7 separate regions of the Homo sapiens genome follow, and all the other regions are linked to region 1. Evidence: promoter capture Hi-C in 16 types of primary human blood cells and fetal thymus (Javierre and others, 2016). All regions are on one chromosome and are shown on one strand. Each heading gives the region's core, a stretch centred on a gene start or on the middle of the fragment in contact. The rest is flanking DNA. Distances are from core to core; before and after follow the strand shown. Region 1 holds the start of LINC02551 (long intergenic non-protein coding RNA 2551). Region 2 has its middle 57 kb from the start of ST14. Region 3 overlaps ZBTB44 (zinc finger and BTB domain containing 44). Region 4 overlaps ZBTB44 (zinc finger and BTB domain containing 44). Region 5 overlaps ZBTB44 (zinc finger and BTB domain containing 44). Region 6 overlaps ZBTB44 (zinc finger and BTB domain containing 44). Region 7 overlaps ZBTB44-DT (ZBTB44 divergent transcript).

Region 1 (3,929 bases), core at 426-2,925:
GCCTTTAGCAGTGTGAGGAATATCGTAGGTGCTCACTGTTTGTGGAATGAGTGGATAGGTGAATGAATGAGCAAATGAATATTTTTCTGTAAAGCAAGGACCACTCTGTGTGATAATGTGACATGCAGCCCACCATGGGATGATGTAAGGCTTCTTTTCACAGAACCGAAGAGCGTTTGAACTATAAAGGTCCTTGAAAGTAGGTCACCGTCCCAATTGTACAGAGTAGGAAACTGAGTCCCAGAGAGGGAAAACAGATGGAAATGAACACTTGGAAAGTTAATATCTTTGATTTTTAATACTTCTTCCTAGAGCGTAGTCCGATGTAACAGTTCATCTGGCGAGATTCTGAGTTACCAATTTTTTATGGGTTTTGCGTTAGAATAATTTTATAATAATCAAAAGTAAATGAGAACAAGGCCAATAGCATAAAATTTCACTCCTTCACACTCCTAAGTGTTTTTCGAGGCACTGCGGAAAAGGAAGCATCTATCGTGGTTGGTCCAGCATCCCTTCAGTAGCTTAGATCTGCAGAAATACTGTTGGAACATCGTTTCTTTATTCTTCCCATCCTTTGTGTGTTAGGCCAAACCCTGAGGACTGTCTGCCTTGGAATAGAGAGGAAATCCAAGCATATGTGCAAAGTTGAGCTGCACTTTCAGCCCCAGGTCTTCAATGGGCCTTCTCCACAGGCACCTGTGAAATGCCAGCAGGGTCGTTGCATGTAGAGGGATCCCACTCAGTGCACCCCTGGGAATGGCTCAGCCGCACTGTGGGTGTAAGCATTAATCACACAACAGCCATTCTACATATTCCTTTTTTATTCTCCAGAGAGTGCCAGGAAAAGTCCTGCCCAGTCAAAAGTCTTCTCTTGCAGCTGGGTGTTGAGGGTGATTGCCCCTCTCTCTCCTTGTAAGATTATGTTTGACAGCAGTGAAAACCAACAGTTTAACAGCAGTAATCTCTTGGCAGGACAGATTGATATGAGCCTTGTCCCAAAACAAAGTAATCCTTTCAGGGAAGTGTATTTCAAGTTGAGCTCACGTTCCCAAGATGCTGAGATTCTTATGTAGCTGACACCGGAGCTGAGGCTGAGCCCCAGCCAGGGATATCCAACGATTGCCAGTAACACCACGGAACTGAGTGAAGATTCAGGGGCTGAGTGTGTTCCTGAGTGCTTCAAACCGGGGGACCTGGAAACCAGAGGACTCCTGGGGAAAGGCTGTCAACTCCAGCCTGCTCTTCCTAAATGGCCTTGTTAGTAGTGACTTCAGCCCTGGCGGTGAGGCATGTGGGTCAGAATAACATTCCCTTTCTTTTCCCTTCACCTCTTTTTTCTCCACGGTTCCTTTTCATAACTTCTTTATTTGCTGCCTAGAGGAGCTTTCTGGACATTTTGTCTCCAGGGAGCGTGACATGTCACCTGTTTCTCACCTCATATGCCTCTGATCTTCTACACCAAGGTAGCTATAAAGGCTTGCTTTCTAGGCTGGGTTTCCCTGCACAGGCCCACTGAACCACTCAAACCTCAGAGGTGGAAGTGCCCAGCGGGCCTCATGGTCAGCTGGGGATAACGGAGTCATTTTCGCAGCCCAACTTCTGAAATTCCACAAGAGGGCGCCCAAGGTCTCCCAAGTCCGGCCACGCCCGGTGGCCTTGAGGCCGGAAGGTGGCGCTGTTGCTTTAGCCATCAAGAAAGGCAAGGCTGGGGACGCCGCATCCCCGGGTGCGGAGGGCGATGCCTAGGGGCGATGCTGTGCCTGTGGCGGCCAAACAGTGCCACCCACTCCGGGAAACAAAGCCAAGCGCCGGACGCTAGGTATGGGAGAGAAGAGCCACCCTGACCCAAGGGAGGGCTCTAGGTGAGGAGCCAGCGTCCTCCGGCTCCGGTTCCCGCTGCACTGCTGCTTTGCCAGGAGGCCTTGAAGAAAGTCATTCATTCTTTCTCCCCCACAGCTTCCTAGGTCTTCCACGTGTTCAACGGAAATTCACAAATTCTCTAGTAGCAGGTAAGCTTCGGATTCAGGAATGAAAAAGACAAAGCCCTGTCCTGGGTGAATTCATTATCCATGGACAGGGGAGGCAGGCGCATCATCGGAAAGTCACCGTGTGAGGAGGGACGTGGAGGCACAGAGGTGCACACGGAAGCCCCCAGAAGAAGGACTTCCCCCAGCCTGGGGAAGCTGGGCGGGCAGGGGTGGGCCAGCGAAGCCTTCCCGGTGATTCTAGGCAGTCTTAAAAGGTGTTAGGAGTCAACTTGGGAAAGATTAGGAAAAGGCAGTGTAGGCCAAGGGACGGCCGGAGCAGAGGCCGCGCGGCAGTGCTGGCATGTGGGTGGGCGGTGGTAAGGAAGGCGGTGGATGAGGATGCAGGGAGCAGATGGGCTGCGTTGCAGGCTGGGCCCCTATGGCCCTCAATAGGTTTTGTGGTCAACATGCTTTGTGGAGTTACAACAAGCAATGGTGGCCCTAACACATATATTCATTTATAGGTCCATAAATCTGCATTCATAGAGATAAATGAGTAATCCCCAGGGTGAAGGAGAACTGGAAGAGACACTGGAGCCAGGTCCACCCTTGGCCAGGTTTTACCTTGACTTGGCGTCATCACTAGGCACTGGTTTTTTTCTCTCTCCTTCTTCCCTGACCAAGAAATACAACAAATTCGTTATGATATCGACTTGTCATGATCCGAAATTGAAGAGCAACCATATATTTATTTGGCAAGATAAATACACACATTCTTTACATAAGATTAGTAGCCACCAGTTTCTAAAAGCATATATTGTCATTTATTTGCCAAAACAAAGGTACATGCCCACATGTTATAGATGGGAAAGATGAGGCCCAGAGCTCGGGTGCATGGCTGAGGTCACCCAATTAGTGGATGGTGGTGCTGGCACTTCTGTCTGGGCTGCTTCACCTTGTCACACACTCTCCACTCCATGCAGGCCGCACCTCTCTAGCAGGGTTTATCACCCAGCTTAGTATCACTAGTACCCAGCACACTCACTCTGTGAAAGACACTGCACTGTGATCTGTAGGGTCTAAAGCTAGGGGTCCATGTCACATACAGAATGGCACTTTTCACAGAAAGAGAGGACAGATGCTGCATGGCTGGTCTCAGTGTTCATTCCGAACCCCCACACTCCAGCGTGAGTACCAAATGGTCATGAGCATTGACGGAGCACACAGTGTACCCTGAGTTCTAAAGACGCAGGACTGTGTCTGAGCTGCCATAACAGAATACCATATCAGGTAGCTGACAAAAAAAAACAAAACAAAACACATTTCTCACAGTCCAGAGAGCAAGGTTCAGTGTCAAATGATGGCCTGTTTCCTCATAGACCCTATCTTCTCACTGTAACTTCACATGTCAGAAGGGACAAACAAGCTCCCTTAGGCCCCTCTTATGAGGGCACTCATCCCATGCGTGTGGCCTCTACCCTCAAGACCAAGTCACCTTCCGAAGGCTCCGCCTCCTGGTATCATCACCTTGGTGTTGAGGATTTTAATCTGTCAATTTTGGATGGAGACAAATGTTCAGACCAAGGATAGGATGGGTTCTCAAATGCACTACTTTATATGATTAGCAACCAGAGCACATGGCTACAGCAGTAAGATGCTTGTTGGCATTTGTGACTATGTTGCAGGAAGGGCCATCCAAGAGCGTCTATGACTTGGTGCACCCTTAGTTCAAATGGCATCTTTCCCAGATGCTTGGTCTCCAAACAGAAAGCAGCCTGCAGTTTCATGTTTTAAAGTTTCTGCTACAGAGATCCTTTGCCAGTGTATTGAAGTTTGTAGAGAGAATGTTTTTAATCAACAAAATGTACTGAAGTAGTGTGCAAAGTTCCAGGAAGGAATAAAGCCCACCAGTGAGGCAGAGAGAAATGGAAGTCTAGCAAAGACAAATGAAAGATCCCATGC
Region 2 (3,929 bases), core at 390-2,889, 640 kb after region 1:
TATGCCCAAAACACCCGGGGTGAGGGTCAGGGCACAGGAAGGTAGCCCGGCCAGCCCCTGGAACGCCACCTTCACAGCGGTGTCCAAATCTGAGGCCTCCAGGCCTGATGTTTCTACTCATGGAAACACAGGTGTTCGACGTCTATGCTTCACCAAGACGCACCATAAACCGTGTGGGCAGGGGCTTGTGGAGAGAGGTGGGCTGCCCAAAGCTGCCTTCTGAACCACACATCCATCCTGCCCTGCTGCCCAGCTGGCCCCGCTGAAACACACTGTGCGTTCCCTGCTGCCCTCACTGCAGTGAGTCCCAGGGCGGACACTGAACCAGGCCCAAATCATCTTTACTGAACCCAAACTTACAAAACATTATTTTAAAAACTAAACCAGGCTGGGCGTGGTGGCTCACGCCTGTAATCTCAGCACTTTGGGAGGCCAAGGCGGGTGGATCACCTGAGGTCAGGAGTTTGAGACCAGCCTGGCCAACATGGCGAAACCCTATCTCTCATAAAAATACAAAAATTAGCCAGGCATGGTAGCAGGCACCTGTGATCCCAGCTACTCGAGAGGCTGAGGTGAGAGAATCACTTGAACTGGGGAGGCAGAGGTTGCATTGAGTCAAGATCACGCCATTGCACTCCAGCCTGGGCAACAGAGCAAGACTCCATCTCAGAAAAGAAAAAAAAAAAATTAAATGTCTTTTGTTTAAAATAAATACCCAACAAAATAGTTCAAGCTGTGAACCACTCATTCGTTTTTCAGAAGCCTTTGAATTAGAACAAAATGGAATTATATTTTCAGCTTGGGTCTTGCTACATGTCCCCAGGTCCCAGTGAAAATCCTTGTTACTGATGATGCAGGAATATTTCTGTGCCCCCCACACAGGTCCAGTTTGTGGGTCTTCTTTGGGACTGGAAAATCTGGGCACAGGGGCCGGCCCTGCAGAATCTCTCTCCAGCCCTTCCCCTCTAGGCTCCAGTCCGAGGCCCGCCCCATCACCCCTGGCCTCTGTTCCCTTTGCTTAAGCTTCCCGCAAGGCCAAGCAGCCTTCAGCAGAACTGAACTGCTCAGGGAGGAAGACGAGGGTCACAGGCTGATCCTCCTGAATCAGAGGACAGAACATGTTGTTCTAGTGCCCACGGCCAAGACCTCAAGGAAACATATTCTCCCTCCAGTCCACACTGCCCCAGGCAGAGGAGTAAGACGAAGCAGATGGTTTGGCCCCTTAGAGAGGGAAATGCCCAGGGGCTGCTGGGGGTGGCCAAGGAAAGAAAGGACATGGGGAAGATTTTGAAATGCTAATGGAGCCGGGTTGGAGTCCTGCCAGCGAAAGTCTGTTTTGGCCTTTTCCACGTGTGCCTAAGCCAGTGAGTTTATGACCTGGCGAGAGAGGTCCTGGCTCCAGCACCTAAAGCCCCAGGTGGAGCATGCATTGGCTGCAGGAGGCTGTGCGGGTGGACCCAGTGGCCCAGGTGCACCCTTCTCTTCCCCTACTGAGGAACCGTGAGCAGCAGGCTCTCTATCTGCACGGCCACAGCGTCCTCTCCTATAACTGGGAATGACAGAACCCACTCCCGAGGACTGTGATGACGCTGAAGTGAGAGGTGAAGTGAGAGGATGCATCCACGCCGCCAGAGTCCCTGACACTTCTTTGACATACAGATTGGAGCAGTCACTCTTCCAGGGCCTCTCCAGCTCTCACATCCAGCGCAGGGGACAGGAAGAGGCCGCTTGGCATCCCACTTGGCAAGGTCAGGGGCACAAAGACGGGGTGGAAGCACAGTGGGGTCCCAGGCTGGACGGGCCTGTCCGTGCTCCCACATTAGGACGGATTAAAATGCCTCGTGGGCATCTGGCGTAGGTCACCTTGAATTTCAGGTTCTTTCCAACCGTGAGGTTCCAGTTCTGAAAGGATGTCCCTCAGGCAGCTGCTTTCCTGGGAAACAGCAACTCCACTGAGCCTTGGAGGGTCATAAAGGTCCCCGCACACACCCCAGAAGGCCCCAGAGAGGCACCTTTCCTGTGCTCGGCTCAGGCTGGTCGGCCAGACCCCGTGACCTGACCCTGCCAGGAATGTGACCTGTCTGCCCGCCCAGACGTGCCCAGGACCTTGTTTCCCAAGTGTCTGCCTCATCTGGGGGCCCGATGCCCCCAGCCTACACCGGGTGCCCTTTCCGCAGTCACAGATGCCTGATTTGTTGAATTAATGAGCGGCTGCTTCTCTCATCCTTTCCCTTGGCTCATTCAAGTAAGCTTGTTACCCATTCTTTTGCAACAGAGTCACATGTGTCAAACAGATTTCATTTTTTTCCTAGTTTATGCCTATACATTTCTTCTGTCCTATTTGTCTTCATTGGGATTTGGATGGGAATTGGATTATGAGCTGCAAAGAGGTGTCAGATACCCAGTGTATTCTGGGAGCTGTCCTCCGAATGTCCTTCTGCATGAAGACTGAGATCTTCTCCACCCTTCCTGGGTGGGCCTGGTCCCTCGACCCCCTCCCTCACACTGCAACCTCAGAGCTCTGTGGAAAAAGCACACAGGCTGAGGGTGGTAGAATTTCCCTGTTGAGCTCTTTCCCTATTGAGTTAAACGAGACCATATGAAGTTCCAGAGGGTCTGGCGCAGAGGCTGGGTTATTCTTGATCCAGGGGTGTGGGCAGGGGAACAGTGATAACCTCCAAGGTGAAAGCAGCGCGTCGGGGAGGGAGCCTGCAGCCAAGCCAAGGGCAAGGGAGAGCTAAGTTTCCATCCTAGGAAAACACACACATCCCTCCCGCTGGAAGGTGCTGAGACTATGGAATAAACAGACAATGGAGCTGAGTCCCACCCATACCCGCAAGCAGCTCTGGACAGTGGCTTTTTAGGAAACGATGGGAGTGAGTGGAAAGGGTAGAATGAACACATGGTCTCCGAGTTGCAGGCACAGGACAGTGGAACTTGGGAGGAGACATTCCTCTGGAGGAGAAAAGGAGAGAAATAGGAAAAGGATAGTCAAGCCCGCTGAAATCCTAAGAGGATCTCTTTATCAAAATATAGTGTCCTCGCTGTAGGCATATCAGGTCACAGAAGCAATTCGTGTCATATACGCATCAGCTTGCAGGGCAGGGAACAGCCTGCATGGGAAGGTGTCTATACACAGGCTTCTCCTTGGTGGCCAGCCAAGCCCTGGCGTAGAGCCAGGCTAGCCCCTCTGCAGGCACCTCCTGGCTGTGGGTTGCACCTGTGCCCCCTACACCCCTAATGGATGCCCACCCTGATGTCTTCCCCCATTGTCAACGCTGTGCTGGTCATCTCATGGGACAGCAGCTTGAACCATCTTCTAGGCAGTCCCAAGATATGAAACCAGGGGAGAAATACTCCCATTCCTTCTTTGGGGTTTGGTCTCATCATTCTTAGTGGTGTTTGGGGCCTTTCCAAGTTCCGTTCCTGATTGTCACCCTGAGGAATGGCCCGGTGGCCTGGCCTGAGATAGCTGTTGTCCTCACCTCCTTCAACCAACACTCTACTCCCTTCCCTGTCCCCATCAACCATCCTCACTGAGCAAATTGAGGTGGCATCGTGGCTAATGAAAATCACCTTCCGTCTGGCTGAGTGGACTCCAGGAACCCAAGAAGCAATGCCATCGAGGGTGGCAATGCAGATGGAAGACAAGTGCATGACCAGCCTAGAGCAAACCCCTAGCCTGGAAAATGGGTCTTCTGGCAGGAACATCTCACAACCTGAAGGTCTCTGGAAGGTTTGTCAGGATTCCCAAAAGAAAGAGGACTCATTGGAGGACAATTCCCAAATGCTGATCCACACATATTTGCTGCTGAGACAGTTTCAAGTGTTTGCACAAAAATTAAAGCATTTAAAATACTTTTTTTTCCTTTTTTGAGACAGGGTCTCACTGTTTGCCCAGGCTGGAGTGCAGGAGTGGCGCAATCTCA
Region 3 (3,929 bases), core at 766-3,265, 620 kb after region 1:
AAATATTTCTAAAAGAACTTAAATAGTAATATAAGACTATTATCTTACATGTGGTTTTTCTTTAAAATCACAAACATTTAAAAATATAGAACACGGCTGGGTGCGGTGGCTCACGCCTGTAATCCCAGCACTTTGGGAGGCCGAGGCAGGTGGATCACAAGGTCAGGATATCGAGACCATCCTGGCTAACACAGTGAAACCCTGTCTCTACTAAAATACAAAAAATGAGCCGGGCGTGGTGTCGGGCGCCCGTAGTCCCAGCTACTCGGGAGGCTGAGGCAGGAGAATGGCGTAAACCCAGGAGGCAGAGCTTGCAGTGAGCCGAGATCGCGCCACCGCACTCCAGCCTGGGCGACAGAGCGAGACTCAGTCTCAAAAAAAAAAAAAAAAAATGTAGAACACTACTTTGGATTAATAATTCAGGATATGAACACTAGATAATATATGTCAGAGGCTTAGATATAATATAGCTTTCAGTTACAATCTTGGCTTATTCACACCAAAGGATTACAGTGGTCCTCTTTCTCTTATTCACAGGCTCAGTAGATGAAGGCGTTTCTGAGGGCTTGCCTACACTTCAAAGCACGTCTAGCACTAATGCTCCTCCGGATGATGATGATCGGTCAGTACTAACATAGCATTTCGTTACCTCTTAAGGGTTGTGTTTACAACTCCAAATTCAAGCATTTCATCTCAAGAGTTGTAGAAGTTTATTACAACCTCACTTCAGTATACTTTTCAAAGTAATGAAGTAGCATCATCACATTATAAATTAGAGTACCTATACAAGGCTTTTTTTTTTCCCCAGCATTTCCAAAACTACCTAGTCCCATTGCTTTAAATCGTATCTGTACCAAGTGTTGGCAAACTATGAACCACAGGCCAATTCCAGCCTACCACCTTTATTTGTAAATCAAGTATTACTGGAACACAACCAGGCTCATTTGCTGACATATTGTTTGTGGATGGCAGAGTTGAGTGGTTGAAACAGACTGTATGGTGTGCAAAGTCAGAATGTGTGCTGTACGGACTGCTGTGAAAAACATCTGCCAAAGTCTGATCTGTATACCCATAACTCCCTCCCTGCTTGATATTTCCACATAAATGTATAAAGGGCATTTCACATTTAACAAGGCCAAGACAGAACTCTTGATTTCTAACTCCTTGTCTGAATCCTGCTTCTCCAGCCTTTCTCCCATTTCAGTAAGCATCATCATTATCCCCTAATTTCTCAAGCAAAATCTCTGAGGATTGTTCTTAATCTTTTTTCCTTACCACTCTTCATCTCCCTCGTAGTTAATCCTTAAGTCCTGTCAACTCTGCCTATAAAATATATCCCTGTCTACTTTTCTAATCTGTACTGTAGCCACCCTACTCTAAGTCACCACCATCTTTTGCCTTGACTACTGCAATAACCTTCAAAGTAGCCTCTGATTGCATTCTTCCCCTAATCCATTTTCCATGTAGCAGCCAAAATCATCTTTTCTTTTTTAATTAAGTCAGATTATGTCACTGTTTTAAGCTATAGATTCTTAACATTCTTTATTCATACCTAAAATCTATAGGCCTTGCTATGCCTTCTAAAGCCCTACACGATATGACTTCTGCCTAACTCCGTCTCAAAAAATAAAAAAAAAAAACAAAAGGCATTCTGGACATTAACATTGTTTTTCATATTGTTAAAGTAAAACTTGAAGTCTAACAGTTAAACTGTTTCAAAAAGTCTTTAAGTGTTTTATCTTTTTTCATTTAAAATTGACCTATAGCAGTGTTTATTCAGTTTAAAAATCAGAGCCTGGTTGCCTTCTTTGGTCTGTTTTTTTTAGATTGGAAAATGTTCAGTATCCCTACCAACTCTACATTGCTCCTTCCACCAGCAGTACAGAGCGACCAAGTCCAAATGGTCCCGACAGACCTTTTCAGTGTCCAACCTGCGGGGTGCGATTCACCCGTATTCAGAACCTAAAGCAGCACATGCTCATCCACTCAGGTAATGTCACCTTCCCTGTTGGTGCGTAAGTGAACGCTCTAAAACATTTTATTTTGCAGTCCCAGTTAAAATAGAAAACAGGGGCTTCTGAGTTTTAAAAAAAACTCTGGGAAGTCAAATGAAAACAGATTAGCTAAGGTTTATTGCTGAAATGATGCAGTGTCAGAAAGCTGCTTGCCACGGGTGTTGAGTATTCTGATTAAAAGAACATAAGGTGATATGGAGTGAGTACTTTGTAAATAAAAAGACATATTAGGTGTGCACATAGAGGTGAGATAGAGAATCACAAACACAGATGGTAAAGCAAATAGGGTTAAAAGGGTCTGTATGGGTGTTCTTTGTGCTGTTCTTCTTATAATGTCTCTTTAAGTTTGAAATTTTTCCCAAATAAAAGTGTGTTTAAAAATGTAATATTTTCTTGCTAATTTACTTTCAATTCTACAGTCCTAAATCTCTGTGTGCCCTGATGAGTCAGCTTTGTAGTTTGTATTTTTTTAAACATAACAGAGATTTTGGATAAATGTATAGAGGGGATTTGAAATTTTAGTTCAGTAATCACATGAAGGCAACAGGATTCTTGTGGGTAAAACACTGACCTCTGACGAGTAAGAGATCTTTGCTGCTGTTTTCAGCTGCGTGAGTTACTATCTCACTTTCCCCTTCTGTAGATAGGTCTTACAGTCCCTGTCCTAGCACCAATTCTCTGTGACTTTGTTCAATCCGTAGACTGTGTTTTGAAAGGTTTTAAAATTTTTTCCCCAAAACACTGTGATAATGAATTTGAGGAGACTATTAATACACTTTATAACTCATTTATTTCTATCAATATTACATCATATTACCCAAAAAAACCCATTATATCAAATGATGGTTCTGTCATGCTCATTACATTCAGAGATGTTAAAATTGTTCTTTCTTCTCGTTTCTCTGTGAGATAGGGAACAGAGAGTAGGTACTGATGATTTTCATATCCGTTCAATGTAAACCTCTAATGAAATGAAATAATATGTGCTGTTAGTGGGGATTTGGGTTCTGTCTACATACTGTAGTTAAATTGTGTTTTGAAGTTAGTAAAATAGATGATCTAGAAAAGCATTCAAAAATCAGCTTCAGTAGACGTTACCTAGTTTGCCTCCCCTACTGCCTTTTTTTCTTTTCCTTTTTAAGCACTTGTGACTTTTCACATATTCTGCACATTTTCTGAGATACTCAATTAGAATATGTTTTTGCTGGTAATTCTTGCCTTTTCAGATGATCTGTTGCTACAGAAATATAGTTCAGAAATTTGTAGGGTTTATGACTTTTCAGTTTATTTTTGTTTTTAGATATTTTGTTTTGCTTTATTTACAGGAATTAAACCATTTCAGTGTGACCGCTGTGGGAAAAAGTTCACCAGGGCTTACTCGCTAAAGATGCATCGCCTAAAGCATGAAGGTAAACGCTGTTTCCGGTGCCAGATATGTAGTGCCACTTTCACTTCCTTCGGGGAATATAAACACCACATGAGGGTTTCCCGGCACATTATCCGCAAGCCTCGGATTTACGAGTGCAAAACATGTGGCGCCATGTTCACCAACTCTGGAAATTTAATCGTGCACCTGAGGAGTCTGAACCATGAAGCATCAGAGCTAGCAAACTACTTCCAGAGCAGGTGAGGTGCACAACGAAAACCCAACCAGGAAAACTGCTTTCTAAACTCTCTTTTCCTGCTTTTAGGGCAGCCTTCTGTGTTTTTACATCAGGTTGCCAGCTAGTCAGTCACATTTGTTACGGATTCCCACTGTTCATACTCTAATCTCCTGATCTGATAAAATTTTGCTGAGTCTTCTACGTATATAAAATTATAAACATTTTATAGTTGGTATTAAAAATATTTTCCTGCAGAAGTAGACTACTTGTCCTCTTGAGATATTTTTTAAATAATACAAGGTTTAAGTAA
Region 4 (3,929 bases), core at 835-3,334, 600 kb after region 1:
TTAATTTCTTGCCTTCACACCTTTGTTCATGCAGATGGTCCCTGGATTATAACTAATTCACTTGCTCTGAAAGCATGTTTCTTCCCTCAGCCACATGATCCCAAAGTAAGCACTCTCGAAGGCCATGCTTTAAAAGCAGAAGCTAGTCTCCTGGGATGCAATAAATGAACAAAACGCTTTATATATAGCCCTCCCATTTTCTTTCTTTCATCTCATTTTTGTGAGACCTAAATCAGCAAATATGTTACATGATGGTTTGCGTAGACCAGTCCCTGGCTGTCTAGTGTCTCATTGTGGTCAGTTGACTTCAGGAAGGGTATGTGGAGCACTCAGTTTACATTCGAACTTCTGTTACTAATTATGGTCAAGATAATTATTTCAGTAGCTTTACCTGGCTGCTTTGGAACAGAGATTTATGCCTTATCCTTTTGTGAAGTCTGACATGGAACAGTCTCAAATTGATCATTTTGTCTTCTCAAGTTAGAATAGTCTGTGACTTATATTTTTTTAGACGGGGTCTTACTCTGTCACCAAGGGTGGAGTGCAGTGGTGCAGTCTCGGCTCACTGCAACCTCCACCTCCCAGGCTCAAGTGATCCTTCCACATCAGCGTCCCGAATAGCTGGGACTACAGGCCCATGCCACCACACCCGCCTAATTTTTATGTGTTTTTTTGTAGAGACAGGGTTTTGCCATGTTGGCCAGGCTGGTCTTGGACTCCTGAGCTCAAGCAATCCGCCTGCCTTGGCCTCCCAAAGTGCTGGGATTACAGACGTGAGCCACCACACCTGGCAACCTTTTTAAATTCATCTTGAAATCTTTTTTTTTTTCTTTCCACTTCCTTTTTTTCTTTTTCCCATCTTTCTTTTCCTCTATACATTTACCTGCATAAAACATTAACAGGGATGATTATGTAATGGATTGTTCAGTGTTTACACTGGCATTGCCTGCTGCATGCTCACATTTAGAAACAGGAATGATAATACGCCTACTGATAGAGATATGATGACAATCAACTAACTATTAAATGTGAAGCATTTCAAATACTGTCTGGCACATAGAAGACACTCTATAATTGTCATTATTTACAAACTGTTGCAGCCCTGCAGCTCATTAAAACGCTGGTTCACAGGCCGGGCATGGTGGCTCACACCTGTAATCCCAGCACTTTGGGAGGCCTAGGCAGGCCTATCACCTGAGGTCAGGAGTTCAAGACCAGCCTGGCCAACATGGTGAAACCCCATCTCTACAAAAATACAAAACTTAGCCAGGCATGAGGGCGGGTGCCTGTAATCCCAGCTACTCGGGAGGCTGAGGCAGGAGAATTGCTTGAACCCGGGAGGCAGAGGTTGCAGTGAGCCAAGACCACCCCGCTGCACTCCAGCCTGGGCAACAGAGCAAGACTCTGTCTCAAAAACAAAACAAAACAAAAAAAAACATTGGTTCACAGACTTCACTGATTGGACAGTTTGGAAGGCAGATAAGGAGAATATATTTCTATACAGTCCCTACCTTGAAGTTTCTCTGTCACTACCATCTTTCAGCTTTTTAATTTAGTACAGTGGCCACATGAAAATGATCTAAATCACATTTTAAACCACTAAAATATCAATTAATGCTTTATTTTATGTATTTTTTAGGACATTTCTGATTTATTTGCATCCTTGAAGAGCATCTGTAGAAGAGGAAGTAAAAGATGGGTGTGAAAACATTTACTCATAGCTCCTCTTCCCACAGCCAGGAAATGCTTGGAAAGCTAAATATGCTGCGAAATGATGGACATTTTTGTGATATCACTATTCGTGTCCAGGACAAAATCTTCCGGGCACATAAGGTGGTACTAGCAGCTTGCAGTGATTTCTTTCGCACCAAACTTGTAGGCCAAGCCGAGGATGAGAACAAGAATGTGTTGGATCTGCATCATGTTACAGTGACTGGCTTTATACCTCTTTTAGAATATGCTTACACAGCCACTCTATCAATTAACACAGAAAATATTATTGATGTTCTAGCAGCAGCCAGCTATATGCAAATGTTCAGTGTTGCCAGCACCTGCTCAGAGTTCATGAAATCAAGCATTTTATGGAATACACCCAACAGCCAACCTGAAAAGGGTCTAGATGCTGGACAAGAAAATAATTCTAACTGCAATTTTACTTCTCGAGATGGGAGCATTTCTCCCGTGTCCTCAGAGTGCAGTGTGGTAGAAAGAACCATTCCTGTCTGCCGAGAATCCCGGAGAAAGCGCAAAAGCTACATTGTTATGTCTCCTGAAAGTCCTGTAAAGTGTGGCACACAAACAAGCTCACCCCAGGTATTGAATTCTTCAGCTTCCTACTCAGAAAATAGAAACCAACCAGTTGACTCTTCCTTAGCTTTTCCTTGGACTTTTCCTTTTGGAATTGATCGAAGGATTCAGCCTGAGAAAGTTAAGCAAGCAGAAAATACCCGGACTTTAGAATTACCTGGCCCATCTGAGACCGGTAGAAGAATGGCTGATTATGTGACTTGTGAGAGCACAAAAACTACCTTGCCTTTAGGTACCGAAGAAGATGTCCGGGTCAAAGTAGAAAGATTAAGTGATGAGGAGGTCCATGAGGAAGTGTCCCAGCCTGTCAGTGCATCTCAGAGTTCGCTGAGTGATCAGCAGACAGTTCCAGGAAGTGAACAAGTCCAAGAGGACCTTCTGATTAGTCCACAGTCTTCCTCTATAGGTATAATGCCTTCTGTGTTTTTCTTGGTGCTATAAAGTCAATTCAAACATTTTTAAGTTCCTGTTAGATAAAAAGTTTTGTGCTCGGTCATATAGGAAATATAAAGAAGAGTAAAACATGGTAACTGGATTTGCTTGAGATGCTATTAGCACTATCGTTTATTTTTTACAAGTTGCACATTGGGGAAGATAAAAATAATTGAATGGTATCTGCTGGGACAAAGGCAGATACACATACACAAAAAAGCAGTTAAATCCAGTTTGTGTTTTATTCTTCATTAAAATATGTATTGAAAACTTACCATGTGCCAAGCAAACATTTATGATACATAAAGAAAAACACATAGTCCCTGCAATGACAATTAGGTTAATCATCTAATTGGGGAAGCAGATATGAAAGTAAATGATTACAGTGAACTATCAAAAGTGCTCATCTGGAGGTGTGAACAAAGTAGTATGGTTGCAACAAAGGAAAGAGCAAGTTACACTATATGTTTGAGTGGGTCTTATGCAATAAGTAAGAGTTTACCCAAGTGTGGGAATGTCATTTCTGTGAAAACATAAAAACACAGAACATATATGCAAACACAGAGGTATGGAAGAGCATTGTGTGTTTGGTAAACAGTGAATTCAGTGCAAAATGATGTAAGTAAGTACAGATGCCTGAAACTGTAGGGAATAGTGGGAGATCAGACAAAAGGAGTGGTTGAGCGCAGGCTGTAAAGAGCCTCGAATCCTAGTTTCAGTAGGGGTTGCATTTAAGTGCAGGTGATGGAATCCCTTCTGCAGTAACTTAACTGTAGCAGAGTTTTATTTATTTTTTCTTTATTATTTATTTATTTATCTTTTTAGATTGAAAATAAAATGATTTATAGTTGTTTTCTCTGGCAGTATTTTTTTCTTTTTTTTAATTCAAATTCTGGGGTACATGTGCAGAACGTTCAGTTTTGTTACATAGGTATACACATGCCATGGTGGTTTGCTGCACCCATCAACCCTTCATCTGCGTTACGTATTTATCCTAATGCTATCTCTCCCCTAGCCCCCCATCCCCCAACAGGCCCCACTGTGTGATGTCCCCCTCCCTGTGTACATGGGTTCTCATTGTTTAACTCCCACTTATTAGTAAGAACATGTGGTGTTTGGTTTTCTGTTCTTGTGATAGTTTGCGGAGAATGATGGTTTCCAGCTTCATCCATGTCCCTGCAAAGGACATG
Region 5 (3,929 bases), core at 661-3,160, 580 kb after region 1:
AGCAGTGTTTTAAGACACTACTTGCCATTTTTCTTTCTTATTCTTAGATATACAATGGAGTTTTCCAGAGGCTACCTACTTGAAATGTTATTTTTTTATTTTATTTTATTTATTTATTTATTTTTTTCCCGAGACAGAGTCTGGCTCTGTCACCCAGGCTGGAGAACAGTGGCATGATCTCGGCTCACTGCAACCTCTACCTCCTGGGTTCAAGTGATTCTCCTGCCTCAGCCTCCCAAGTAGCTGGGACTACAGGTGTGCGCCACCACACCCGGCTAATTTTTATATTTTTGGTAGAGACGGGGGTTTCACCATGTTGGCCAGGCTGGTCTTGAACTCCTGACCTCAGGTGATCTGCCTGCCTCAGCCTCCCATAGTGCTGAGATTACAGGTGTGAGCCACTGTGCTCAGCTGAAGTGTGATACTGTAACAGACTTAACACATGTGAGAATTCAGCTGATTTCCAATAAGCCAGACTTAAAGAGATTTTCAAAAATCAGTGCTACTCTTGCCTTTTTCTTTCTTTTTTTTTTTTTTTGTCTGAGAAAATTTAGTTTCTTGAAAACTATGTTGTCTTAAAATGTACTGTTATTTTTAGGTGAATAATTTTTTAAATTTCTAAGTTTTAATTTATAATACGGTAAATATTTTTAGATATAGTTCATGTAAATAAAAGCTCTTTTGGGTTCTCAATAAATTTTAAGAGTGTAAAGAGGCCTGAGATTCGAGTTTAAAATCCGCTGTCTAGTGTTAATCCCACTCTAACCACATACTCCAAAGTTTTTCCATTTCTCCAATCATTATTTCCTTCTCTTACTATTATCAGTTATCATGTAGGTATATCATCTTCATATGTTGCAGGATTTGTTGCAAGTACTTTAGAGTCATTCATTCTATTTAATATTGATCCCATTTATGGGAGCAGAAGCTTTCTTATTCTTTATTAATATGTCTCTGCATTTTATTTCCAACACTTACCTCTGTTTGTTAGTACTTTCACCATTCTTACTGTTTTTGTGCTTATCGAACATGCTGGATTTAGTAATATACCTCAAAACTAAGCACAGAGAAAAAACTAATGAAGACTAGAGAGCTAAGACTTACATGACCACACAAGTCCATTATTATCATCTCTTGGTAATAGGCATAGTTAACACTCTTGCTCTGAGAAATGACTTTGATTTATGATAAACATTTATAAGTGGGGAGTATCTGTAATTTTTATAAACTTGGCTGTGAAGGGAGAGTGCCTGATGGATGATACCCAGTTTTGATGGGAGGTGAGGGATGGGGCATGGAGAATCAAAAATGAGTACTAGATTTTAAGCTATGGGTGACTGAGCAATTGAAGGTGTCCATGATTAACAGATTAAGAAATTCTGTAGTGGTATGTTAGTTGGGTAATAATTTGAGTTTGTTTTCAGACATTGAATTTGCAAGATGGCGAACACATTCAGATGGAATTGTCTAGCACTCTAGCTGGTCAGTAGAAGCCCAGAATTGACATTCAGAGGGATATTGCTGAGATTTTAGTCAAAGGTGGTAGAGTCAGAGATCTGTCAATAATGATAGCTTATCTGTTAATCACTGCTGCACCATATTCTTATATAAACAGTCTGTGCTGGGCACTGGGCTCTTTACATAGACTCATCTCATTGAATCTGTATGACAGTCCTCAGAAAGCTCACTTGTTTAAGGTCATCCAGCCACTACAGTCATATAACCATGATTAACATGCAGGTCTGTCTGAACTAAAAAGCTGTTGTTCTACCTAGTGGACATGCTGTCTCCAGGCAACGTTAATATATTCATTGATAATTGAATTGAATGTGAAATACTCAAAGCCTAATTATGCATGAGGTGAAGAAATCTGTCACTGAGTTTTGGGTAATATGAAAAGACTATAATTCTTTTAATTAATGCTTAGTAATGTGTCAGAAGATTCAAATGTATTTATCCTTGGAGCAATCTTCTGTAGTTCAAAGGGACAGGGATACCACGAGTGTCTATGGCAGATCTAGAATTAGAAACCTTAATAGGAATTGAGTAGTTATAGTGTGAGATATAATTTATGGGGAAAATTTCAGGTAGTAAGTTTCAGAGACTATTCAAATTAATAGATTTTTTTTAAGTTTATTGTAATTTTAAAAATACATTTACAGGTCAAAAAGTATGTATTTTTCTGGGATATTCAGATAATCAGAATAGGCTAATATCTGTCATTTTCACAGTCACTTTTTTCTCTTTAGGTTGTTAGGCAGCAAATAACTACAGCTAAGGACTCAGCTTTTAATATTCTGGCCCATTGGTGATTTTTTCATTTTTTTAAAGATCACTTTGTTACAGAATTTGCCTGATTTCGTCTCAGTCTGATAATTTAGAAAGGAATTGACTGTAATGAGTCCTAACATTTTTCCACATCAATCTTTTTAGTTGTGTAGTTTGTCACTTTTCGGATAGTTGATTTACTGCTTTGAACAGATCGAATATGAGTTTTAGAAGTAGTAAGATTTTTATTCCAACAAGAACAGTTCCTTTATAGAAACAAGTTTTCTTACACTATTATCAAATCACTAGAAAGAATACTTGTAGGTGGGCTGGATCAGTGGCTGGAGCATTACCCCTGCTGCATACTGGCTGCTAGCAGTTCTGAGAGCAGAGTGGACAGCACGGGTTGGTCTCAGGATTTGTTGTGTGCCTTGTGGATATCACTGTCAAAAGAAGTATAGGAGCATGTGGGCATGAACTGGTTTGGGAACAAATACTACTCTATTCCAGAGTACAAGAACTGGAGAGGTGAGGACAAACTATTCAAGAGAAAAGAATTGTAGAAGCAGCAAATAAAAAATTAGACTGTGAAGTAGGGGATATTCCAACAGAATGGGAAGCTTAGATCAGAAGAACAAAAAAGAGGCTGGGTGTGGTGGCTCACGCCTGTAATCCCAGCACTTTGAGAGGCCAAGGCAGGCAGATCACCTGAGGTCAGGAGTTCGAGACCAGCCTGGCCAACATGGTGAAACCTCATCTCTACTAAAAATACAAAAATTAGCCAGTCATGGTGGTGCACGCCTGTAATCCCAGCTACTCAGGAGGCTGAGGCAGGAGAATCACTTGAACCCGGGAAGCGGAGGTTGCAGTGAGCCGAGATTGTGCCACGGCATTCCAGCCTGGCCAACGAGAGCGAAACTCTATCTCAAAAAAAAAAAAAAAAAAGAAAACAAGAATAACTCCACCTACGATGGAGGAAATACTAAAGAATGAAAAATACAGAGAAGAAATTAAAAAGCAAAGATTTTTATGAAAACCAAAAACTCCTTAGTAAAGAGACTAGTGAGGAACTCTTGGCTCCACCAGTTCAAACTCAAAGGACATGGCTTTGCTCCATACTTCGGAAAGGAAGAACTCACTGGTTCCCACCAGCACTGGTAAAACCTTTCAGCCAGAATCCCAGATGCCGCAAGATAGAAGGAGCCACAGTCAGTGACTGCATTATGGTCAGATCGTTTTGTGTATATGGATGTGATGATTTTCACAAAGAAAAGAAGTCAAAATATACTTAAAATTTAGAGAGATTGGCCCCCAGGTCCTGTTTTTAACAGTGATTTTTGTACAAAGCAGTGGACTTTTTTTTTTTTGGAGACGTAGTCTCGCTCTGTTTCCCAGGCTGTGGAGTGTAGTGGCATGATCTCAGCTCACTGCAACCTCTACCTCCTGGGTTCAAGCGATTCTTCTGCCTCAGTCTCCAGAGTAGCTGGGATTACAGGCACGTGCCACCACGTCGGCTAAATTTTGTATTTTTAGTAGAGACGGTGTTTCTCCATGTTGGTCAGGCTGGTCTCGAACTCCTGACCTCGTGATCCACCCGCCTCAGCCTCCCAAAGTGCTGGAATTACAGGGGTGAGCTACCACGCTTGGCCAACAGTGCTTTT
Region 6 (3,929 bases), core at 574-3,073, 550 kb after region 1:
AAGCTGACTATTGTGTGTCTTGACACCCCTGCTCCCCATTAATCTTGGAGTGCTTTCTGACACGAGTTACTCCAGGGTTTATCTTATACTTTCTTTGCTCACCTCTGGAAAGAGCTGTTTATCCAGGGAGTCTTGGTTCTTTTTAATGAGAAATCGTATATAGAAACCAAGTTCTGGATGTTTGGCATATTCGTTGCTGCTGCAGTATCATTGCTTCTAGGTGCTTTGAGAGGAGAGAACTAAGAAAAAGGTTTTTGCTTGTTTAATCATGAGTTCAGAGTGATATTCCAATTCCTATTTAACAAGCAGACTTTTTCTTCCTTGACTCTATATTTGTCTCTTGTCTTAAATGAAAATCTTGGTTTTTAATACAGTTAATAAACTGGCCAAGCACAGTGGCTCATGCCTGTAATCCCAGGACGTTGAAAGGCCGAGGTGGAAGGATTGCTTGAGCCCAGGAGTTCAAGGCCAGCCTGGGCAACATGATGAGACCCCATCTCTATAAAAAATAAAAAAATTAGCCAGGCGTGGTGGTGTGTGCCTGTGTTCCCAGCTGCTCAGGAGGCTGAAGCAGGTGGATCACTTGAGCCCAGGAGGTTGAGGCTGCAGTGAGCCATGTTCATACCCCACTGCACTTCAGCCTGGATGACAGAGTGAGACCCTGTCTCCAAAAAAAATAATAAACTTATTTGCTTTCTCCCACTGTATACATAAAATCATTTTAAAATTATAGTGCTGGTATTGCTAATACCAATAAGCTTCATGTAGTTTAAGATTTCTTTGCATTTATTTTCGTATTTAGACTATATTGCATGAAGAATGTATAATGAGTACTGTGTTCAAAAGTCACTTGAAATACTTTTCTCTGGTTATGCTACCAATTTGATATGGTTCATAGGTTTCAGTTTTTACTTAGGATTTTATTTTTGAATATGTAAAGTATGTACATAGTGTAGAAGTCAAAATAATGTTTTAAAACTATACTTGGATTAGCCGGGCATGGTGGCACATGCCTGTAGTCTCAGCTACTTGGGAAGCTGAGGCAGGAGAATTGCTTGAACCGGGGAGGTTGCAGTGAGCCAAGATTGCGCCATTGCACTGCAGCCTGGGTGACAAAGCGGGACTCCATCTCAAAAGCAAAACAAAACAAAAAAAAACTATATTTGGATAAACCTCATTAAAATTAGTTTTTAAAGATGAAGTATTGTTTACCTTTACCATACTCCTTTTAGTATCTACTACATTCTCACATCAAGCTCAGAAGAATTAGCAATAGACAAATTATGTTATGTGAAGCCACATAGAAGTACTTTTAAATTTTAAAATTAGATTCTGCTTCCTCTGGCAAAGAGAACTAAGACTAGTTTTTAGAAGTTAGCAGAGAAGTGGATTCCATGCTTACTTTTTTTTTTTTTTAAAGACGGGGGATTTACTGTGTTGCTCAGGCTGGAGTGCAGTGGCTATTCACAGATGTGATCCTACTACTGATAAGCACGGGAGTTTTGACCTGCTCTGTTTCTGACCTGGGCCACTTCTCTCATTAGGCAACCTGGTGGTCCCTCACTCCCTGGAGGTCACCATGTTGATGCCTAATTTAGTGCAGACACCCAATCGGCATAGGATACTACAGTCCAGAACTTCTGGGCTCAAGGGATCTTCCTGCCTCAGCCTCTTGAGTAGCTGGGACTACAGGCACACACCACTGCGCCCAGCTCTTTTTCTTAAATAGTGATTTAAAATAGTGATAGATTCTCATTATGTTGTCCAGGCTGATCTCTCAAACTCCTGAGCTCAAGTGATCCTGCTGCCTTGGCCTCCCAAAGTGCTAAGATTACACATGTAAGCCTGTAGCCGTAGGCCTAGATACCATATTTTTAAATAAAAATTCCATAAAAATAGAACTGTAGCTTTTACTTAAATCATGTCTTTAAAGAGGCAGGTAGTTGGTAGAGGTTTTATGACTCCATCTACTTTTTTAACTTTTTTTTTTTTTTTTTGAGATGCAGTCGCCCTCTGTTGCCCAGGCTGGAATGCAGTGGCTCGATCTCAGCTCACTGCAATCCACCTCTGCCCCCTGGGTTCAAGCGATTCTCCTGCCTCAGCCTCCCTAGTAGCTGGGATTACAGGCATGTACCACCACGCCCAGCTAATTTTTGTATTAGTAGAGATGGGGTTTCACCATGTTGTCCAGGCTGGTCTCGAGCTCCTGACCTCAAGTGATTCACCTGCCTCGGCCTCCTGAAGTGTAATCCTGGCCTCCTAAAGTGCTGGAATTACAGACGTGAGCCACTGCGCCCAGGTGACTCCATCTACAACAAAACTGGCATAAATATGCTATGTACAGATAAAAAGGCATTTGGATATGTGATCAGTGGAGATAACACATTTTGTTTGGGTTGGACCAAATTTGATATAAATTCATAATTATGTGATCTCAAATGAAGTTTTAAGAGGGAGCAGTGTTCATCTAAAGTAAGCAGAGCACAATTAGGCAGTTTATCAGCCTCCTGTCAACCAAGTGCTGAAAAGCAAAACTGTGCCTGTAGTGTGTTTTCCTGTGTTCATCCTCACTGTCATAGGTCACACTAGCTGAGGCTGGCGTTGCAGGTGGTAAAGGAATTACCAAGGCAATTGTAGGTAAAGAAGGGCAGATTTATTAGAGAAAGTATGAAAGTAGGTTGGTTGCAAGGGTGCAACGGGCAGATCAGCAAGAGAGAAGCTGACTGCCAGGAGACAATGGCTTGCTGGGCATGTTACAGGATGATGCTTCTGCTGTGTGCTGCAGAGAGGGCTATGTGCAGTACTGATAAGGCCAAGGTTGCAGTGAGCTAACTTGCATTTTTCTGTCAGCTGAGAGTCTGGTGATAAGTTGAGTGCAGAAAGCTTGTGAGTTATTTGTGCAAGAGGGCTGTGTGTCTTGGACCATGAAGAAAGGCAGACTTATACCTTATCTGCTTTTTCTTTTTGCTGTACCCTTTTCCCACCCGCCTGACTCCTTTTCCCTTACTAGGACTCCACAATCACTGCTTTCAATAACAGAGTGAACATCTAGTTCCATTAGGGAGTGGAGTGGGAAGATGGAGAATGCTTGCACTTGGACCCATTCACCCTCATTCTGTCTTTAATCTCAGTAAAATACATACACTACCCAAGGTTCTTAGAACATATAAGGTGATGAAGAAGAATACTATAAACAGTTGCATGGGTATGTGTAGCCATGTAGCAGCTAGAACCTGTTGTGTAGGCTGAATGAACTAATACAGTGTTGATAATAATGCTAACATTTGTTATGCCCTTTCTGTATGCCAGCTGTGCTAAACATTTTATACATTATCTTATTTAAATCTCACATTAACACTTTGACATTGCTACTAGTATCTTATTTTGCAGTAAGGAAACTGGTATCTAAAAGCATTAAATGACTTGCCTAGAGTATCACAATAAGTGGCCGACCCAGGTTTCAAATTCAAGGCTGTTTAGAGTTAGCACTTAGCTGCTTTGCTCCACCTCACAACTAAATGTAACAAGTCATAAAAATTGAATAAATTTTCAGTCACCATGAATACGGAACTACATGACTGATGCTGTAACAACCTCAGAGATTGCAACGGGGATATGTTCTGAGAAATGCGTCGTTAGGCGATTGTGTCATTGTATGAACATCATAAAGTGTACTTAGACAAAACTTGATGGTATGGCCTACTCTACATCTAGGTTATATGGTATAGCCTGTTGCTCCTAGGCCACGTATCTGTACAGCATGTTACTGTACTGAATGCTGTAGGCTTTTGTAATGCAGTGGAAAGTATATGTATATCTAAGCATATCTAAACCTAGAAAAGGTGCAGTAAAAATATGGTATTACAGGGTTGCGCACGGTGGCTCATGCCTGTAATCCCAGTACTTTGGGAGGCGGAGGCGGGTGGCTC
Region 7 (3,929 bases), core at 605-3,104, 520 kb after region 1:
TTTGGCCTTTAGCTGAATCTATGTCTCATGAATTGCAATTCCTACAACCCCAATAAATGCCTTGATTCCTTGCTCTGCAGTAAGGTCTTTCACCTCTTCTTGGTTGACATTAAATGGTGTCATAAGTGGGATGCAAGTGACTCTCTTCCTCTGTGTCCCAGTGCTGCTGTGGTTTCAAGCATGGTATTTGCAGGAACTCCTTGCGTTCCATTGCCTTCCTGACAGCCTCAAACCCTATTGGGGAGTCCTCTCATTTTCCTGAACCTCCCACCTTGGTTGAGGTTGAAGCCTTTATTGGGTAGCCTTTGTTGCCAGCTGTCAACAAAGAAAATCTTCCCTTTTTGGTGGGTATTCAGGAGCTCTTTTGCTTCTAATGGCATAGGTGCTAAGTTACCCCCCTTCTTAAACACCTGTTTGTTTTTTAGACAAACATTATGGTCATTCACCTTGTAAATTTCATTCTCAGTGGACCAATATCACTGAAAGTGATTTGGAATTACAATTGCCAACCTGAAGCTTTTTTAATCTCCAAAACTTGTTTTCCTTCTCAATTACAGGGCTAAAATGAAAGAATAAACAGCCTGAGTGGGAAGCCTACTTTAATTGGGTTTCTCAAGGTATCTAAAAGACTCCAGAGATCTAAACTAGTGTCCCTAAGAGATAACCATGCCAAAATAACTTTTAAAAATCTCTAAAATTAAAAAAAAAAAACTCAAGTTTCAAGTTTCTAGAATTTCTCACCTTCAGTGACCAACAGATACATCCTTTAAATTAGAAAGACTCTATACTTGAAAGGTTTTTAGAGGTCTCTCTTTCTAAACAATGCATTATTTGTATTTACGGGAGGATCAAATTGGAAAAAAAAGACACATGATCGTGTTATGGCTAGCCTTAGAAATCATCTTGACAAAATTAAAGAGCAAAAATTCTGACCTAAAACTAAGTTAAAATCCTTGTATGCTTTCAGAACAGGGTTATCTGAAGAAAAAAATCCTTGTATGCTCAAACTGCCTGCTTTGTTAGCCAGGTGTGGTGACACATGCTTGTAGTCCCAGCTACTCGGGAGGCTGAGGTGGGAGGATCAACTGAACCCAGGAGGGTGAGGCTGCAGTGAGCTGAGATCACACCACTGCACTCCGGCCAGGGTGTGAGATCCTGTCTCTAAAGTTTAAAAACAAAAACAAACAAACAAAAAACACTGCCTGCTTTGGATTTCCTGCAGGATTTATTTACAAAAAAAAAAAAAAAAGGCACCCACTCACTCTGTGGTCTATGGTTAGGATTTGGTGCTTTCACTGCCATGGCCCAGTTATGGTTTAATATTTATGTGACTCGTGACTTTTTGGGATACTCATTTGTTATTGACGCTTTTCCCTTCCATACAGCTTTTGATTTCCTGTCTTACTGACTGTTTTAATCTTTCATCTGAGATGCCCATAGAGAAGCTTTCCTTTTTTTAAGCTGTCTTTTGGGGGGGTAGTTCTGGGTCTTGTAAGGACTGCTTTGTACTTCTTTGGCAATACCTCATGCATCCTTCTTTAAGTTATAACCTTGGCTAAGGTTTTTGCTTTTGGTAAGTCACTTGGGAGGTACCTTTGTTAAAAACAATAGCAAAAAACAACTGGCTGCATACAGTGGCTCATTCCTGTAATTTCAGCACTTTGGGAGGTCAAGGCAGGAGGACTGCTTAAGCCCAGGAGTTTGAGACCAGCCTGGGCAACATGGCAAACCTTGTCTCTATAAATTAAAAAGATTAAAAAAAAAATTAGCCAGGCATAGCGGTGCACACCTATGTCCCAGCTACTCAGGAGGCTGAGGCGGGGGATTGCTTGAGCCCAAAAGGTCAAGGCTGCGGTGAGCTATGTTTGTGCCACTGCACTCCAGCCTGGGCAAACAGAGTTAGACCCTGTCTCAAAAAAAAAAAAAAGAAAAAAGAAAAAACAGGTCAAAAGCCAGAAATATTGGCTACTTATCCCTGCTGAAATCTGAAAATAAGAGATATGATAAGATTTTTTTTTAAAGAACTCTACAGTCAGAAATCAACCAAATTAAAAGCTGATATTCAGGCTGTTTTTGTGGGGTTTTTTTTCGAGGTCTTTCTGTTTTTCTCTTTTGGATTCTGTTTCTGGGAATTTTTTTTCAGTCAACTGAAATCCCTTTTTAATTGTGTTCGGTTCCTCTGTCGGCTTCCTTTCTTGTTGGCATGATTTTGCTTAAAAAAAAAAAAAAAGTAAAATTTCACTGGCCTTTCTGGAAAGCTTTAAATCTCCAAATTGGCTCCTTTAAGATTTGTTCTTCCATTTCCTTCCACTTCTACTGCTCCTTCTTTTTTGCTATTTTTGATTCCACATGAAGAGATCTAGGAGGAACTTCTAGTGGCCCTGAAACCCCTTGAGCCACACAGAAAAAGACACCACGCCTCCTTTTTGGGATTCTCAGTTTTCCTTACGGAGCCCCAGAGTTGTGGCGAGATCCTCTCGGGGCTAAAGCTCTGCTCTCTTTTACATTGACCTCTCTAATTCCTCTGGCTTTTGAGGGTACCAGGGATTCCTTTGCACTGTGAAAGAAAGACTGATCTTTGTGCAACGGCCAGTCATCACTAGCAAGGGCTGCAGTTTTGGAGGTGGCTGACAGTGGTTGTTTGCGGTGAATAGTTAATACTGCAGGGGGATACTCATTTCATTGCAAGTTTAGATAAGAAAAGTGAAGTTTGAATACTTGGAGGCTATGGGAACACCTGCCACGAAAGGATAAGACTCCTGGGCCAGGAGCAGTGGCTCCTGCCTGTAATTCCAGTGAGAAGTGACAGCGTGCTGGCAGCCCTCACAGCCCTCGCTCACTCTCCATGCCTCCTCTGCCTGGGCGCCCACTTTGGCGGCCCTTGAGGAGCCCTGCAGCCCGCCGCTGCACTGTGGGAGCCCCTTCCTGGGCTGGCCGAGGCCAGAGCCAGCCTCCTCAGCTTGCGGGGAGGTGTGGAGGGAGAGGCAGGGACAGGAACTGGGGCTGTGCGCGGCACTTGCGGGCCAGCGTGAGTTCCGGGTAGGCGTGGGCTCGGCGGGCCCTGCACTCGGAGCGGCCTGCAGGCCCTGCCGCCCCGGGCAGTGAGGGGCTTAGCACCTGGGCCAGCAGCTGCTGTGCCTGATTTCTCACCAGGCCGTAGCTGCCTCCCCACAGGGCAGGGCTCGGGACCTGCAGCCTGCCATGCCTGAACACCAACCCGGCCCCACCCCGCGTGGGCTCCTGCGCAGCCTGAGCCTCCCTGACCAGCGCCACCCCCTGCTCCACGGAGCCTGGTCCCATTGACCGCCCAAGGGCTGAGGAGTGCCGGCGCAGGACGCGCAGGACTGGCAGGCAGCTCCACAGGCGCCCCTGTGGGGGATCCACTGGGTGAAGCCAACTGGGCTCCTGAGTCTGGTGGGGACTTGGAGAACCTTTATGTCTAGCTAAGGGATTGTGAATACACCAATCGGCTCTCTGTGTCTAGCTCAAGGTTTGTGAATGCACCAATCAGCACTTTGTGTCTAGCTGATCTGGTGGGGACTTGGAGAACCTTTATGTCTAGCTAAGGGATTGTAAATACACCAATCAGCACTCTGTATCTAGCTCAAGGTTTGTAAACACACCAATCAGCACCCTGTGTCTAGCTCAGGGTTTGTAAATACACCAATCAACACTCTGTATCTAGCTAATCTAGTGGAGACATGGAGAACTTTTGTGTCTAGCTCAGGGATTGTAAATGCACCAATCAGCACCCTGTCAAAATGGACCAATCAGGTCTCTGTATAACAGACCAATCGGCTCTCTGTAAAATGGACCAATCAGCAGGATGTGGGTGGGGCCAGATAAGAGAATGAAAGCAGGCTGCCCAGTACTCTGGCAACCCGCTGGGTTCCCTTCCACATTGGGAAAGTTTTGTTCTTTCCTTCTTT

The links. Contacts are between HindIII fragments. The CHiCAGO score rates a contact against its expected background, and 5 or more counts as called.
Region 2: a contact is called between a fragment that was not itself captured here and the fragment with the promoter of LINC02551 in region 1, in 17 of 17 cell types (total CD8 T cells, naive CD4 T cells, naive B cells and 14 more). The highest score is 35.1, in total CD8 T cells.
Region 3: a fragment that was not itself captured here is called in contact with the fragment with the promoter of LINC02551 in region 1 in 3 of 17 cell types (total CD4 T cells, naive CD8 T cells and naive CD4 T cells); the score reaches 5.9 in total CD4 T cells.
Region 4: a fragment that was not itself captured here is called in contact with the fragment with the promoter of LINC02551 in region 1 in 3 of 17 cell types (naive B cells, total CD8 T cells and erythroblasts); the score reaches 7.0 in naive B cells.
Region 5: a contact is called between a fragment that was not itself captured here and the fragment with the promoter of LINC02551 in region 1, in 1 of 17 cell types (total CD8 T cells). The highest score is 5.6, in total CD8 T cells.
Region 6: a contact is called between a fragment that was not itself captured here and the fragment with the promoter of LINC02551 in region 1, in 1 of 17 cell types (total CD8 T cells). The highest score is 6.8, in total CD8 T cells.
Region 7: a fragment that was not itself captured here is called in contact with the fragment with the promoter of LINC02551 in region 1 in 2 of 17 cell types (M1 macrophages and non-activated CD4 T cells); the score reaches 5.4 in M1 macrophages.

What each region holds. Positions count from the first base shown.
Region 1 is chr11:130,859,856-130,863,784 of GRCh38, reverse strand. It overlaps LINC02551 (long intergenic non-protein coding RNA 2551), which reads left to right and starts at 1,675. Exons shown (of 6, transcript NR_125383.1): 1 at 1,675-1,819; 2 at 1,957-2,009. RefSeq lists enhancers at 1,313-1,813, 1,814-2,314. The HindIII fragment of the contact is 6,813 bases long and covers 1-2,016 here.
Region 2 is chr11:130,214,937-130,218,865 of GRCh38, reverse strand. No RefSeq gene overlaps it. Among named protein-coding and RNA genes, the nearest start is that of ST14, 57 kb to the right of the region's middle. The HindIII fragment of the contact is 1,227 bases long and covers 1,026-2,252 here.
Region 3 is chr11:130,236,505-130,240,433 of GRCh38, reverse strand. It overlaps ZBTB44 (zinc finger and BTB domain containing 44), which reads left to right. Exons shown (of 8, transcript NM_001301098.2): 3 at 538-622; 4 at 1,827-1,990; 5 at 3,341-3,641. Among named protein-coding and RNA genes, the nearest start is that of ZBTB44, 76 kb to the left of the region's middle. The HindIII fragment of the contact is 4,573 bases long and covers 1-3,929 here.
Region 4 is chr11:130,259,640-130,263,568 of GRCh38, reverse strand. It overlaps ZBTB44 (zinc finger and BTB domain containing 44), which reads left to right. Exons shown (of 8, transcript NM_001301098.2): 2 at 1,640-2,713. The coding sequence starts at 1,696. Among named protein-coding and RNA genes, the nearest start is that of ZBTB44, 53 kb to the left of the region's middle. The HindIII fragment of the contact is 5,894 bases long and covers 1-3,929 here.
Region 5 is chr11:130,284,575-130,288,503 of GRCh38, reverse strand. The region is part of intron 1 of ZBTB44 (zinc finger and BTB domain containing 44); the gene reads left to right. It also overlaps the pseudogene NDUFAF2P2. Among named protein-coding and RNA genes, the nearest start is that of ZBTB44, 28 kb to the left of the region's middle. The HindIII fragment of the contact is 1,960 bases long and covers 931-2,890 here.
Region 6 is chr11:130,307,964-130,311,892 of GRCh38, reverse strand. The region is part of intron 1 of ZBTB44 (zinc finger and BTB domain containing 44); the gene reads left to right. It also overlaps the pseudogene RN7SL778P. Among named protein-coding and RNA genes, the nearest start is that of ZBTB44, 5.0 kb to the left of the region's middle. The HindIII fragment of the contact is 2,125 bases long and covers 761-2,885 here.
Region 7 is chr11:130,336,792-130,340,720 of GRCh38, reverse strand. All of the region lies in intron 1 of ZBTB44-DT (ZBTB44 divergent transcript), which reads right to left. Among named protein-coding and RNA genes, the nearest start is that of ZBTB44-DT, 24 kb to the right of the region's middle. The HindIII fragment of the contact is 813 bases long and covers 1,448-2,260 here.